2 separate regions of the Homo sapiens genome follow, and region 1 is linked to region 2. Evidence: promoter capture Hi-C in human tissues and cell types (Jung and others, 2019). All regions are on one chromosome and are shown on one strand. Each heading gives the region's core, a stretch centred on a gene start or on the middle of the fragment in contact. The rest is flanking DNA. Distances are from core to core; before and after follow the strand shown.

The links. The method cuts DNA at HindIII sites, captures the fragments that hold promoters and counts their contacts. A contact is called where the count stands out against the background at its distance.
Region 1: the fragment with the promoter of RNASE2 here is called in contact with the fragment with the promoter of CCNB1IP1 in region 2 in 1 of the 25 tissues and cell types used here (hippocampus).

The regions. Positions count from the first base shown.
Region 1 is chr14:20,954,210-20,956,909 of GRCh38, reverse strand. RNASE2 (ribonuclease A family member 2) reads right to left here and starts at 1,423. Exons shown (of 2, transcript NM_002934.3): 1 at 1,374-1,423; 2 at 474-1,143. The coding sequence starts at 1,138. The coding sequence ends at 653. The HindIII fragment of the contact is 15,094 bases long and covers 1-2,700 here.
Region 2 is chr14:20,331,947-20,334,646 of GRCh38, reverse strand. CCNB1IP1 (cyclin B1 interacting protein 1) reads left to right here and starts at 1,368. Exons shown (of 7, transcript NM_021178.5): 1 at 1,368-1,393. RefSeq lists an enhancer at 1,289-1,598. The HindIII fragment of the contact is 13,028 bases long and covers 1-2,700 here.

The sequences.
Region 1 (2,700 bases), core at 174-2,673, 620 kb before region 2:
AGGAGAATAGCTTGAACCTGGGAGGTGGAGTTTGCAGTGAGCTGAGATCTCGCCACGCACTCCAGTCTGGGCGACAGAGCGGGACTCTGTCTCAAAAAATAAAATAAATAAAATAAAATAAAATAAAATAAAATAAAATAAAATAAAATAAAAAATAAATACAAATGACTCTACAAGGAAGGACTAGGAAGCCCAACAGGATGACCTAGTTGTGAAGAGGGTTTAGAGGAGATGACTAAAGCTTGATCAAAGCAAGAGTCTTCGACAGTTGCTAGATATCGGTTGAGACCTCAGCTTCTCAGCCTAAAGCAGGGAGAGGGATAAGACTGTGCTGTTTCATGACAGAAAGCGTCTCTTATCTTCAAATCTCTCTGTTTCCCGGAAGTCTCAGGTTAGAGGAAGAAAAATCTCTAGAGTAGATTGTCACTAAATGACAGCAGAGCGGCTAATGAAGACACACAGACACTTTCAGATGAATTTGCAAAGCAGTTTATTGCAGGGTTCACAAGGCACTTCAGCTCAGGAAAGCTGAAGGGGTATGGAGACTGATGAGGACAGATGCTGATACCCAAAGTATATGGAGAGATGGGATCTTGGCTATGATTGAGGAGCTTGGCAGATGAGTGATGATGAGGAGTGCTGATACAGGAGCTTAGATGATTCTATCCAGGTGAACTGGAACCACCGGATACTGTGGAGGGTCTCGTCGTTGATCTCTGTTGTCACATGCAACTATATAGAACATGTTTGCTGGTGTCTGCGCATACCTGCAGTTTGAAATATTCTGTGGACTTGGAGTTGTGAGGTTACAGTGGATTAAAGGCACCTGGCTTCCACTGTGGTGACAATTTTTGCGAGTTTTGTTACTAGGACAGGTCATATTTGGGTTACCACAAACATTAACTACGTTAGCAAAAGTTGTAAGAAGGAAAGTATTTTGGTTTTTGCATCGCCGTTGATAATTGTTAATGACCTGCATTGCATTGGTGCATTGCTGGGAGGTCATATTGATGTGCTGGGTTTCAAACCATTGAGCCCAGGTAAACTGTGGAGGTTTGACATGGAGTGAGCCCTCCACAGCCAGAAGCCCCAACAGAAGAAGCAGACAAATTTGGGAAGTGAACAGTTTTGGAACCATGTTTCCTGTAAGAAAAGAAGAGAAGTAACTACTCCCTGATCGGGTCTTGGTTATGACACACACTGTAGTGTCTTACCCCACAGGCCCCTCTGCGGCCACTCTGGGGTCCCATTTCCTTTACTTCCTGTCTGCAAAGTGTGCAACGTCTCCTAAGCACTAACGTCAGCTCTCTTCTCCCTCAGTTGCTGCCCCATTGCTGCCCCTTCTGTCCCAGCTCTGGGGATCGTTGACTTACCCAGTCTCCGCGCTGTAGCTCCTGTGAGAACTGATCCAGCTGGTTGTTCTGGGGTTCAGGGGCAGCTGGTCTCCCCTACTTGGAACTGTTTAAATAAAGCATCCCTTGGTGGGTTGGGCCAGCAGAGCCCAGAGGGAGGGTCTGGCTCTTGGCCATGCAGAAACCCACAGATTGGTACATAGTCCACTTGTGCAATCATCCTTTTTATTTGATGACTTGGCTGAGCAACGGATACCCAAGGACAGCCCTGCTGCTCTTTCTGCTATAAGGACTCTAATTCCAAGTCATCCTGTGTAAGACAGAGTTTTGCTGGTTAGATCCAAACTCTGGATGAAAACTATATGCTGCCTGCAGAATGACCACAGATTTTATAACTGTCCTCTGGCAGGCCACTAAATGACCAAAGTACATGAAGGCAGGCATAGTAGTTAGAACAAATAGAGCCACTGAGGGCTGTTTGCCCAGGAGAAACCCAGCTTCCCTTTCATTTTTAGTAATATCCTTGGTTCTCTCTCACACAAATGCTCTCCATCTCATCCACCACTCTTGCTGGAAACTTGAGCTATTAATTTCTTAGGGCACAAGATTCTGTAGATAATTAAAACAATCTGCTACACATACTTGAGGGATTTTTTTCTTTACTCCTCTTGCATTGGATCCACTTTCTCTTAAGTCTTGCCCTGATTATTGCTTCCACTTTGTGTAAAGTTACACAACCTAAAAACACACCGAGGACAGTTGTAAAGTCTGGCAGAGAATGAATGAACATTTGGTGTCATGAAAGATTCCAACCTAGCACTCGGTATTCCTGTGATCTTTTCAGCCTATGGTATTTTCTACAAAACACTGTGTTCTGGGGTTGTCATTCATCTTCCTGGTAAGTTTCATTTTGTGATATTAACAAGAAAATGGTTCTGTATTTACAAATGAACATTTAAGGACAGAGCACTGTATTCCTGAAAGTATAGAGGTCAAGTGTACAGTTTGATACACAAAGCATACATTTATTCTTGGCCCTCAGAGACATACAGGAAAGTAATTGTAGACACATAATTGTATTACACTTGTGTGAACATGGTTTCATGGGGACGCCGAGGGTGAAGGAAATCACTTGGCTTGAGGGACAAGGAAGACTTCAAAAAAAAAAGTTTGATTTCAGCAGGGCCCTAAAAGATAAGCAGGGAGTTTTCAGGGACTTTAGGGAAGAGATGAGCATTCTGGGCACAGGGGATGATGTGGGGAAATTGTACAGAGGTGGGAAGTGAATTGCAGTGGTAAGACCTGAGTACTAAGAGATGTTAAATCTGGTCTAGCTTTCAGATTAGAA
Region 2 (2,700 bases), core at 119-2,618:
TTGGAATAGGTAATTTCTAGTAAGGTGGAAGCAGGGTGGATAGGATGAAATGATTAAAAAATGAGAACTACTATGAGTTAGAGTTGTATCATTTCTCCATATAACTTGAATCTTTATACTTCAAACATTTGCACATTACATGTATATTTGTACATATAACACATACTTGTATATATATTCCCTATTACTATAATAGTATTTATTAAGAATAATGATGAATATTGTGCCGGGGAGTCCTCTAATTATGGCTTAAAAAGAAATCTTTCAGCTTGGGCAACATGGCGAAACCCCATCTCTACAAAAAAATACAAAAATTAGCTGGGTGTGATGGTGCACGCCTGTAGTCCCAGCTACTTACTGAGGCAGGAGATCGCTTGAACCTGGGAGGTCAAGGCTACAGTGAGTCGAGATTTCACCACTGCACTCCAGCCTGGGACACGAAGTGAGACCCTGTTTCAAAAAAAAAAAAAATTTAACAGAGTAAGAACCTATACTTTAACTGGAGGGCGATGTGAGGAGTCAAAATAATTGATTAATCAATTATGTCCTCAGCATTGAAAGTCATTGTTTTTGTCTGGAGATGTGTAAAACGTACACTTTGATCTCCAGTTGTTTATAGTCTACTTGGGAATATAAATCTAACAAGAAATATGTAATAACAATAATAACAGCTAACATTGTTGAGTACTGTGTACCGGGCATTGTACTGAGTACATTATATAAATTATTTTACTTAATCCTCATAACCATCAGAGTAGGAAGATTTCATCTTTTTTCCCTCTTTTTATAGTTGGAACTGAGGCTTAGATGTGTGCAAATAAGTGGCAAGGTTCAGATTCAAAATCAGCTAAATTTTATTTGAAGCCTAAAACACTTAACCCACCTACCTTTTATCTACTAAGCCTGTTAGTTCAAAGATTACCTGAAGGTAAATTTTATCAGGCCAGCTTTGGATCTGGGGGGAAAAAATGAAGGTAAATTTTAACTTGAATCGATCTAGACTGTTTATAATGGAATCTGTTGCCTAGCATAAGTTAAGCATGTTGAGGTCACAAAGGATAAGAAATTACCCTTAAGGGATGAAAATTCTTTAGAATAGAATGCAGTAGGCCCACGCAAACAACAACGTGTATAAATAGCTTAAATTAGCCTGTTTTTGCCTAAGTACATTAACTCAAAAGGAAACTCGGTTTAAGAAGTTCACTCCAAAAATAGTGCAAGAAGCATCACTGGTCCATAAAGAGGGGTGGAGTGGGTTACGTCATTTCAGCACCTTTTAAGGTAAAGGAGGAGGGAATCCTCTTGAACTCATTAGCCAATCAGGTTCTGAAGACACTTCCCAAGGCGACTTCCTGTCTCTCCACTTTCTTTCCCTCTCCGTTTTGGTGGGCTGGTGAGTGTGCGCTTAATTTTGCTCTCTAATTGTTTTGAATTTCTCTTCCATTTGAGTTATATACCCAGGTGGCAGGCCTTTATTTCAAGTCGGCATAGGAGTGTGTGTGAGTCGCAAGGAGATTAATTTCGGCTGTGTGGAGGTTGGGAGAAGGCAGTGAAATGCTCTTCCTGGCTTGTTTCCACGTGGGCCTCTGCAGTACTGGGTTTGCCTTCCGTCTCCGAGTCCTGGTGACCCAGGAACAATAGACTGTGCTTCATGTGCACAGTGCGTGTGTTCTTGGAAAACGCCGGCTTCATTTTGCTTGGCGGGAAAGATATTATCATCCTAATGCTGTTTTGATTTATATCTCCCTGGGTGAGGTCAGATTTCGGGAGAAGGCGTTCAGCTCAGTAGAGTTTAATTCTCCGGTGAGTGTCTAGAGGGCCCAGGTCCTTACTGGGTTTGTGGAAGCTGCAGCGTACCTTGTCTTTCTCCTGGCCTTCGCTCAGATCATTTCGGCTTTCTTGGTGAACCTGGGCAGCAAACTCTGAAGACAGATAAGCCTTAAAAGGAGCTCCTAATTTTTAATGTTGCCACTGTGGTGATTGTGTCCTTAAAAGCTATGGAAAAAGATTAGGGACCTTAGTTCAGGGCAAGCCTCTAGATTTAAATTCCAGCGCCACAGTTTACAGCTCTGGTGACCTTGGGAGAAGCAGTGAGCCATTCCGAGGCTTAGCTTTCCAAGATCAGATAAAATATATAAAAACTAGGCTCTAGTTGGTGTGTAATAAATGTTAGGTACCTTTAGAAGTAAGCAGTACTTATTTATTTACAGCAAGTATTTTGGATATCTGTTTTCTCATAAAAAGTTTGCTTAGTGACCTTCAATGTCATTTCACTGAATTCCTTTCTTTTGGTACATGTTAATTTTAATGTGATGTTTGTGTTGGATATTCTTATAGGCAGAAAGTGTGAGAAAGACAAATAATAAACCAGTTAATCGAATGTAGTAATAGGTATTTGTAGGCCTCCCATAATTTTTATAATTCTCAAGCATTGTTAAAATTTATTTTTTGGGGCATGGCGGCGCATGCCTGTAATCCCAGCTACTCGGGAGGCTGAGGCAGGAGAATCGCTTGAACCCGGGAGGTGGAGGTTGCGGTGAGCCGAGATCGCGCCATTGCACTCCAGCCTGGGCAACAAGAGCGAAACTCTGTCTCAAAAAAAAAAAAAAAAAAAAAAAAATATATATATATATATATATATGTATACACATCATATATATATATATTTTTGAATAGGTAATACATTCACATGGTTCAAAA